2 separate regions of the Homo sapiens genome follow, and region 1 is linked to region 2. The links are contacts of gene promoters, found by promoter capture Hi-C in blood cells and fetal thymus (Javierre and others, 2016). All regions are on one chromosome and are shown on one strand. The core of a region is centred on a gene start or on the middle of the fragment in contact, and the rest is flanking DNA. Distances in the headings are between cores, read along the strand shown.

Region 1 (5,155 bases), core at 1,979-4,478, 250 kb after region 2:
GGTGGCACGCACCTGTAGTCCCAGCTACTCAGGAGGCTGAGGCAGGAGAATTGCTTGAATCCGGGAGGCGGAGGTTGCAGTGAGCTGAGATCGCGCCACTGCACTCCAGCCTGCCAATAGAGCGAGACTCCGTCTCAAAAAAAAAAGAGGTTATTTTCCAAGTTTTCTCCAAAGATACAGAGTTTAAATTTATGCCAGCAGCCTTTATCCGAGCAAGCGGCCAGTTCCCATTCTGTCCCATATTTAAGGATGCAATTTCTAATACTGCAGCCATCAGTATTAGATGAGTATTCCTTCTGCTGAGGTCAACCTCTGGAGGCCCCTGCTCCCTTGCCTGCAGCGGCTCACAGGGAGACCTCTGACACCAACAGCTGGAGGAGGGGTGGAGTTCACTCCCCCCAGCCCCAGTGATCTGACTAGGTGTTTCAACACCACCCAAAGTCTATCTGACGCTCTCATAGTGACTGCATTCATGGGTTTTTGTTGTTGTTGTGTTTTTTTTGAGACGGAGTCTTGCTGTGTTGCCCAGGCTGAAGTGCAGTGGCTCAATCTCAGCTCACTGCAGCCTCTGCCTCCCTGGTTCAAGGGATTCTCCTGCCTCAGCCTCCTAAGTAGCTAGGACTACAGGTGCATGCCACCACGCCCAGCTAATTTTTGTATTTTTAGTAGAGGCGGGGTTTCATCATGTTGGCCAGGCTGATCTCAAACTTCTGACCTAAAGTGATCCTCCCACCTCAGCCTCCCAAAGTGCTGGGATTACAGGCTTGAGCTACCGTACCCGGCCCATTCGTGTTTTTCAATGTGAGAGTCCAGAGGCTGTTAGACAGGGTCATCCGCTGTCCCCCACTTCCTCACTTGATTCTAACTTGGAGATCAGCAAAGATGGTGATGTCAGGCCCCTCGCCTGACCATCACCTCTGGATGCCAGCTAAGGTGTGGACAGATGGGTGGGGCCAAGCTGGGTGACCCAGGACTGCTTGGAAACTGGCTACCAAGAGAGGACCTGAGCCAAAGGACCGAGATGCATAGTTCACCCGGACTGCAGGCAAGACCAGTTATGTTTCCTTGGGGTGGACCCGCTCCCCTGCTGGTGCAACCACGGACTTGTCAGGGAGCAAAGGTTGTTTCTCTAGAGCACTCCATGCCCCTTGGAGCTGCTGGGCTTCGGAGCCAACTATCATATTTAACTTCCCTGGACCAACTCCACTCCACACCCAGCTCCTAGAATTCTTTTTTTTTTTTTTTTTTGAGATGGAGTCTCTCTCTGTCACCCAGGCTGGAGTGCAGTGGCGCCATCTTGGCTCACTGAAACCTCTGCGTCCCAGGTTCAAGTGATTCTCTTGCCTCAGCCTCCCTAGTAGCTGGGATTACAGGCATGCACCCCCGACCCGGCTAATTTTTGTATTTTTAGTAGAGACAGGGTTTCACGATGCTGGCCAGGCTGGTCTCGACTTCAAGTGATCCACCTGCCTCAGCCTCCCAAAGTGCTGGGATTACAGGCGTGAGCCACCATGCCCAGTATTTTTTTTTTTTTTTTTGAGACAGAATCTCTCTCTATCGCTTAGGCCGTAGTGCAGTGGTGCAATCTCGGCTCACGGCAACCTCTGTCTCCCAGCTTCATGTAATTCTCCTGCCTCAGCCTCCCAAGTAGCTGGGATTACAGGCAGCAGCCACCACACCGGGCTAATTTTGTATTTTTAGTAGAGATGGAGTTTCACCATGTTGGCCAGGCTGCTCTTGAACTCCTGACCTCAGGTGATCCACCCGCCTTGGCCTCCCAAAATGGTAGGATTACAGGTGTGAGCCACCACATTCAGCTCCAGCCCTTAAAATTCTAATAACCTAGTCTCTCCTAAGACTTAGCCTAAAAGAACGAACAAGCCTCCCTTTCCACACTGTCCTGGGGGAAACCACCACTGGCTGAGTGCCAGCAGGTGCTGGCCTCTCTCCTGGGCTCAGCAGGGCAGGTCCTGGCTGGCCCAAAGCTTCGTCCTCTGGAAGCCTCCTTCACCATCCTGTCGTACAAGCACCTGCTCTTCCCTCCCTGCCACACGCTCGCTTTGGGCTCACTTGGCCAACCTCCAAGTTCCCAGCCAGACCCAGCAGCCGTGCTGGTCAACCCTGGAAACATGGACTCTGCTTTGAAATTCCTTTGGAAATTATGGTCAAAGTTTCCTTCACAGGGACTCATTTTTCCAGGAACATTTTCTACCAATTTGGGGAAGGTGGGGTGTCTCATTCGTTCATTCATTTACCCAGAGCCTACACTGAGCCAGGTGCTCTGCAAGGTAATGGACGGGGCACAGATATTTCAGGCAGTGCCCACCCTGGACCCTATAACAAAACGGCCAGGTGCTAGAAGAGCAAATTCATAAAGTGCTCTGGGAACAGAGAGAAGGAGAGAGCCAGGGTCCCTCTGAGGACCTCCCTCTGTTTATTTATGTCACAAAAACGCGTAGGAACATTCTGTGCCACCATTGTTTTGCAGTGTGCAAATCTGTGCAAACCTGCCCCCAAAGTCCAAGGGAGCTGAGAGGTGGAACAAAGAGGCTGATATATCATTTCTCAGAAAGGAACTTTTTTTCTCTGTCTTCGAGACAGAGTCTCGCTGTCACCCATGCTGGAGTGCAGTGGCGCGATCTTAACTCACTGCAACTTCCCCCTCCCGAGTTCAAGTGATTCTCTTGCCTCAGCCTTCCAAGTAGCTGGGATTACAGGCACCTGCCACCACACCTGGCTAATTTTTGTATATTTAATAGAGATGGGGTCTCACCATGTTGGCCAAGCTGGTCCCAAACTCCTGACCTCAAATGATCTACCTGCCTCGGCTTTCCAAAGTGCTGGGATTACAGGCATGAGCCACCGTACCCAGCTTCGGAAGGGAAATTTAATAGGGACTTAGGAACAGAAGCCATCATTTCAGGCGGCTGCAAGGCAAGATGATGGATCCCTACGCCATTCCCTCCCAGACCCAGGGCTTATACACCAATAGGGAAGCAATATATAAGACAATTGTAGAGAAAGGTAAGCATGCCAAGTGAATCTGCCTAAGGGCAGGGCTTATGGTCTAGGTTGTTCTGGGACTGGGTGTGGTGGCCCATACCTGTAATCCCAGCACTTTGGGAGGCTGAGGTGGGAAGATCATTTGAGACTAGGAGTTCAAGACCAGCCTGGGCAATATAGTGAGACCCTGTCTCTATTTATATTTTTTTAATATATTTTTTCAAAAGGTTATTTTGACCTAAAGGCAGGATTTACCGAAAGTACATGTTCTTACGCAAGAGCAGTAGACAAAATAAAAATCTCAGAGGCGTTCCTGGAACTGGTGATAATCAGAAGTCAACACAGCGGGTTAGTGTCCTAGACAGGTCTGCTTCGGCCTGCACACAGGCATTGTTCTAAGTATGTTCCAGATGCTAAGTCGCTTAATTCTCATAAAGGCTTTACGAGGCAGGCACTAGTATTACCACATTTTATAGATACAAGGGCACAGAGAGGTTAAGCAGCCTGCCCGGGTCACACTGCTGCTAAGTGGCAGAGCGACATTTGTACCCCAGCACTCAGGCTCCAGGCCCTGCTGTTAGCCACCGACAAGGCTGCCTCTGCTGATGGAGGGGCTCTCCAGCTGAGCAAGGGTGGCCAAGCCTGAGCCAGCTGCTGGGACACTCGGGAAGTGACACAGGCATATCTTCACACCAAGGAGCACACTGGGAGCACCCTGCTCAGCCAAGCAACCCTGAAGTCAGAGGCCGGCCGAGCCAAGGGGCTCCAAAGGGAGCTATGAACTCCCGGGCTGGACCGCTCTGTCTTTGTTCACAGCCTTCAAGGGAGAGCTCCAAGGACCATGTGAGTCCCTGCAGGGGAGCCATGGGAGGTGGCCTCCCCTCCCCAGAAAACAAGGTTTGGTGCCTGCCCTTGAGTGAACAGTTCGTCCCTGAAGGAAAAACAAAACAATAACATTCAGCTCTGGGTAAAAGATGTTCCCACTGCTACTCCACCAGGGAGAGAGAGTGCACTCATGAGAAGGGCTCGCTTTTGTAGGAGCAGGTACATCTTTTTCCTGGCCTGGAGCCCGTTACAACCACGTCATAAACGCCATGCCAGAGAGGGTGCCCTGCACTGGCCCCACACGGCCCACGTCACCTCTCCCAGAGGGCTGGAGAGCGAGCAGCGACATGGGAGGCTCCGGCAGGTCCTGGCCTTAAGGGTCACCGGCTCCCTGTGACAGCTGACTCCACTCCTGGGAAGAGGAACAGGAGAAATCCTAGAACCAGGAGCCGATCCCATCCACGTGGTCTCTGCCCTCAGAAAGAGGCAATGCTGGAGAGAGGCATCCCCCTCCAGGATGGAAACCACAAGAGCCCCAATTTCTGTCTGTCCTGTTTGCCACTGGGTGTCTAAAATACCACTGGGTGTCTAAAATACCATGTCACAAAGCCTCCACAATTTTTCTCTAAAGGATTCGATGTGAGAAGCTTAGGCTTTGCAGTTCACCAGTCTCAGTGCAAATCCTCCACTCTGCCATTGGAGAGCACACACTGCCTATAGCTTCTGAACAGATGAAGCCTTGTCCCAATCAAACCTTATATATGGACACTGAAATTGGATTTTCTTTTTTCTTTTCTTTGAGACAGAGTCTCACTCTGTCATCCAGGCTAGAGAGCAGTGGCATGATCTCAGCTCACTGCGATCTCCGCCTCCCAGATTCAAACAATTCTCTTTCTCCTGCCTCAGCCCCCTGCGTAGCTGGAATTACAAGCACCCACCACCATGTCCAGCTAATTTTTGTATCTTTAGTGGAGACGAGTTTTCACCATGTTGGCCAGGCTGGTCTCGAACTCCTGACCTCAAGTGATCTGCCCACCTTGGCATTCCAAAATGCTGGGATTACAGGTGTAAGCCACCAAACCTGGCCTGAAATTTGATTTTCATATCATTGTCAGATGTCATGAACTACTACTCCTCTTTTTTTTTTTTTTTTTTTTTTGAGATGGAGTCTTGCTCTGTTGCCCAAGCTGTAGTGGTGTGATCTCGCCTCATTACAACCTCCGCCTCCTGGGTTCAAGCGATTCTCCTGCCTCAGCCTCCCGAGTAGCTGGGATTACAGGCATGTGCCACCACACCCAGCTAATTTTTGTATTTTTAGTAGAGATGG
Region 2 (5,263 bases), core at 220-2,719:
TTCGAGTCTGCTCTGGCCCGCTCCTGCCCTAAGCCCTCCTGCTCACTTCCAGCTGTGGAGGTAGCCCAGAGAGTGCCTGGCTCCCTGGCTCCCCCCTCTGCCAGGCCCACTCAGTGTGACCTAAATCCTTGCCGAGGCTTGGCAGCCCTCTGCGGGCGCCCGGATGGCCTCTGGCCTTGGTGACGGTGAGGCCCAGCTCCCCTCAGTTCCCAGCCTTCCCGGAACCCCTTGCCTAACATCCTGTGTGGTAATCATGCCTGTTGGCCCCATTCAGTCCTGCCGGCCACTGCCAAGTTGCCACTGCTAGTTCCAGACGCTCCCACCTCTAATGGAACCATCGGGAAATAAAAAGCTGCAGCACAGTTTCTCTCTCAGGTCAGAATCTCCTCCCAGCACTTTGGGAGGCCAACGTGGGAGAATCACTTGGGCCCAGGAGTTCGAGACCAGCCTGGGCAACAAAGTGAGACCCCGTCTCTACAAAAAGTTGAAAAATTAGTCAGGAGTGGTGGCGAACATCTGTGATCCCAGTTACTTGGGAGGCTGAGGCGGGAGGATCACTTGAGCCTGGGAGGCGGAGGCTGCAGTGAGCTGTGATAGCGCCACTGCACTCCAGCATGGGTGACAGAGCGAGACCCTGTCTCAAAAAAAAAAAAAAAAAAAAAAAAGAAAAAAAGAAAAGAAAAGAAAGAAAAAAGAAAAAGTGGGGAGCAGGTTGGGGAGCATGGTGAGGGCCACCTACTGCCTGATAATGGTGGGGGACAGGAAGGGGACTGAGTGCTCTGAGAGGCAGCTGATCCCGTTTTCTCACTTAAATACCTCTCACCCTACAGAGAAGCCCTGATTCCATTTGCTGTCTTTCTTAGCAATGTCTTAGCAAAAGTCTTCTATTTGCCACACGGGTCCAAGCTTCCGCTTACTAAGCACCCAAGTGCCAGACAACCCCGGAGGCAGGTACTCCCATTGTCCCCACTGTACAGATGAAGAAACTGAACTCAGGGTCACACAAGTGATAAGGGGTGGCAGAGATCTGAAGCTGTGCGCGGAGGCGTGGCCAGCGTGTGCGCTCCGACTTCTAAATCCCTACTCTGGATATTGAAGACGGGAAAGACCGAGCCGCTCATTCTACAGATGGGGAAAAGCGAGGCCTGAGGAGTCCCAGAGCGGGTGCCAGATCGTAGGGAGCAGCCAGCACCCCGGGTCCCCTCCACGACACAACCACGTCCCTCGGCCACTTCTGGGTCCCGCGCGCGTCTCGGACGCGGCAGGACAGCTCTAGGACGCACGGCCACCAGGGGGCCGAAGGGAAGGGCGGGGGCGGAGGCTCGGAGCTGACCCACCGCCTCGCCCCGGAAGCTCCGAGGCCCCGCCCCGGCGGCCGCCAGCGGAGGGCGTGGCCTCGCCGGCGCCCCCGCCCCGCCCCCGCCCCCGCCGCGCGCGCCCCCGCCGCGCGCGCCCCCGGCCCGGGCCCCAGTCTTGCTGAGCGCAAGGCGGTGGAGGCCTGAGGCCTGAGGCCTGGGGCGGGGTGGCGGCCGGGCTGGCCTTGGCCTCGCGCCTTCCCCTGCGGCCGCCGCGGGCTCCGCGGGCGGTATCGGAGTGTCGTGCGGCGCGTGGCCGCGTGACACGCGCACTTGTCGGAGTGACGGGCCCTGCGGAAGAGGAGGTGCGGCCCAGGGCGCAGGGGAGCCCTCGGGAGCGGGCCCGGCCCTCAGCGCCGCCCCGGCCGTGTCCCGGAGGAGCGGCCTGCGCCGCCGCGCGAGAGGAAGTAAGCGCCCCCCGCCGGCCCCGCCGCCGCCCCGGCCCCGGCGCCTCCAACCCGCGCTGCCGCCGGGCCCGAGGCCGCGCCGAGCCCCGGAGCCTGCGCTGCCAGCCCCACGGAGCCTGGGGCTGGCGGCTTTGGAACTGCTCAGGAGGCGGCCAGGCTCCCTCCAGGGTCGCCCCGAGCGGCCGAGCTGTCCTTTCCCTGGGCTTCCCGGAACTGAGTTCCAGGAGAGGGGGAACTCCGAGATTTCCCCCGGGACCTGCTTAATCTTTGGCATTGATTGGCCCTCGGGTTTCACATAGCGTTTCCCGTACCCGGATCTAGTGAACGGTTTTCCAGGGGCAAACCTCTCTGGATCTCTGAAAATCAGCTCACCCAACCTTGAATGCTTAGCCAGAAGTGAGAACTTCTGGAAAGAAGTGTCCTTGCCCACTCCCCCTGCACCCACAACAGGCCCATGGCTCATGAAAGGCAGCAGATGAGGGAAAACTGGTGTCAAATGGGCATATTTTTTATTTTATCTTTTTACTTTTTTATATAAAAGTAAAAAATCTTTTACTTATAAAAGATGGGGTCTTGCTTGGTTGCCCAGGCTGGAGTACAGTGGCACAAACACGGTTCCCTGCAGCCTCCACCTCTTGGGCTCAGGCCATCGTCCTGCCTCAGCCTCCGGGGTAGCTGGGACCACAGGCGCACACCACCACGCCTGGCTAATTTTTAAACCTTTTGTAGAGACAGTGGTCTCACTATGTTGCCCTGGCTGGTCTCGAACTCCTGGGCTCAAGCGATCCTCCTGCTTAAGCCTTACGAAGTGTTGGGATTACAGGTGTGAAGCACCACGCCCAGACAGCGTATTTTAAATTATGCATCATATCCCTTTAATTTTTCATCATTATGATTGGAAGATCATGAAAAGCTGTCTGAGTTTTTCCTTGGCATTTTTCTGTGGTTGATGGTTAGTTGTTGCCCAAGCTGGAGTGCAATGGCGCGATCTCGGCCCACTGCAACCTTCTCCTCCTGGTTCAAGCGATTCTTCCACCTCAGCCTCCTGAGTGGCTGGGATTACAGGCGCGTGCCACCACACCCGGCTAATTTTATGTATTTTTTAGTAGAAACAGGGTTTCACTATGTTATCCAGGCTTGTCTTGAACTGCTGACCTCAGGTGATCCACCACCTCGGCCTCCCAAAGTGCTGGGATTACAGGCATGAACCACCGCGCCCAGCTGGTTAGTTGGTTTTAACAGCAGTTCAAGAAGCTAGCAAGAAGGACTTCATTCGTGAAGCTAATGGTTTAATGATAGAAACTAACATTTCTGGCCGGGCCCAGTGGCTCACGCCTGTAATCCCAACACTTTCGGAGGCCAGGGCGGGCAGGTCACTTGAAGAGTTCAAGACCAGCCTTGCCAACATGGTGAAACCCCGTCTCTACTAAAAATACAAAAATTTGCTGGGCATGGGGGCAGCGGATGCCTGTAATCCCAGCTGCTGGGGAGGCTAAGGCAGGAAAATCGCTTGAACCGCCCTGCCTCCGGTGACGGAGGTTGCAGTGAACCAAGATCGTGCCACTGCACTCCAGCCTGGGTGACAAAGCTAGACTTCTCCTTAAAAAAAAAAAAAAAAAAAAGCAGCTAGGATTTCTTGGGTGCTTACTGTATGCCAGGCATTGTGCTAAGTACCTTACATGCTTCCCATCGATTTGTTTTCCCATTCTGTGGTTGAGGTACAGAGAGGTTAAATAACTTGTCTGAGGGTACATAGTTACTGAGTGGCAGGGATTTGAATCCAGAATATTCTTATGTAACCAGTTCTCCAAAAACTAGCCCTTGAAGGTCTTCCACGTTTCAACAAAGCAACTGAGGCTTATACATGATGTCTTCATGATGTCAGAAGGAAGAACTGTGAAAGGCAAAGCGGACCCGGGAGGCAGAGGCTGGTTACCGCAGTTAGTGTTCGGAACAGCTTGACTTCATGGAGCAGAGAAACAGCCTGTCTGGTTTAAACCACTGTTCAGTATCTACACTGATACAGTGTAAATGTAATACAGTGTTTTACATTTTGCCATTCAGGGATGTAGTCACATTTTACGGGAAGGTTAGCTCTGGGACCAGACTGCCTGTATTCAAATCCTATCACCTCTAGCTGCTTGACCTTTGGTAAGTTATTTGACTTCTCTTTTTTTTTTTTTTTTTTTTTTTTTTGAGATGGAGTCTTGCTCTGTTGCCCAGGGGCGCAATCTCAGCTCACTGCAACGTTCGCCTCCTAGGTTCAAGTGATTCTGCTCCCTCAGCCTCCCAAGTAGCTGGGATTACAGGCACCTGCCACCACGCCTGGCTAATTTTTGTATTGTTAGTAGAGACGGGGTTTCACCGTGTTGGCCAGGCTGGTTTTAAACTCCCGACCTCCAATGATCCTCCTGCCTCAGCCTCCCAAAGTGCTGGGATTATAGGCGTAAGCCACTGCGCCTGGCCATGTTATTTGACTTCTCTTTGCCTTAGTTTCCTCTCTACTCCCTGCTAAGATGGGGATAATCATGTTACCTACCTCATATGGTTGTGGCAAGATTTAAATGGTGTGATGCATGTCACACCGATAGCCTAGCATTTGGCATATAGTTAAATACTCCATAAATAGCTCTTTTATTATTAAAAGTGTTGTTCCAAGTAGTAAGCTGCTGCTGTGTGCTGTGTCACAGTGCTTGAAGTCACCATTAGAGGTATATTCCTTTGTGCCGTATTTCAAATGCAGAAATGACAGTGGTCCTGTGCAAATGGGATTTATTTGTTCATTTAGCAGATATTTATAGAGCGCCTTCTGTATGCCAGGCCTTGTTTTGGATACTGGAGGTACTGCGGAGAACAAAACAAACAAAAGTCCCTGTCCTCATTGGCACGCACACTCTTGGGAAAAGGAATGGCAGACAATAGGCAAAATGAATGTAATTATCATACAGTATATTAGAAAGCGATGTACTGTGGGGAGAAATAAAGCAGGAGAGGAGGATGGGGGTGGGCGGTTTACAATTTTAGAGTGGTCTGAGTAAGCCTCACTGAGAAGATGACATTTTAGCAAAGAAAAATTAGTGAGGGAGTAAACCACGTGGACCTGGTGGGGGACATGGGGGAGTTGGCCAGGCGGAGAGAACAAGTGCAAAGGCCCTGAGGCAGGAGGCTGGGCGGCCAGAGCCTAGACAGGCAGGATGGTAAGAGAAGAGATCAAAGAGGTAATGGGTGGGAGGCCAGAATGTGTAGACTCTGCAGACATCTGCACAGAGGAATGGCATGATCCAGCTGGAGCTATAAAAAGGTCACTCTGACTGCCGTGTTGAGGCTCAGCCATAGAGGGTCCAGGTAGACAGAGGAGGCCAATTAGGAAGTTCCTGTAGTAATCCAGACGGAGATGACGGTGGCTGGCACTGGAGTGGAGTGGTGGAAGGTGGTGAGAAGCAGTTGTATTCTAGATAAATTTTGAAGATAGAAACTACAGGATTTGCTGACAGATACGAT

The links. Contacts are between HindIII fragments. The CHiCAGO score rates a contact against its expected background, and 5 or more counts as called.
Region 1: a fragment that was not itself captured here is called in contact with the fragment with the promoter of H6PD in region 2 in 1 of 17 cell types (megakaryocytes); the score reaches 5.5 in megakaryocytes.

Annotation. Positions count from the first base shown.
Region 1 is chr1:9,479,241-9,484,395 of GRCh38, forward strand. No RefSeq gene overlaps it. Among named protein-coding and RNA genes, the nearest start is that of LINC02606, 53 kb to the left of the region's middle. RefSeq lists a silencer at 3,596-3,796. The HindIII fragment of the contact is 2,490 bases long and covers 1,984-4,473 here.
Region 2 is chr1:9,233,305-9,238,567 of GRCh38, forward strand. H6PD (hexose-6-phosphate dehydrogenase/glucose 1-dehydrogenase) reads left to right here and starts at 1,470. Exons shown (of 5, transcript NM_004285.4): 1 at 1,470-1,762. RefSeq lists a silencer at 1,323-1,882. The HindIII fragment of the contact is 5,189 bases long and covers 905-5,263 here.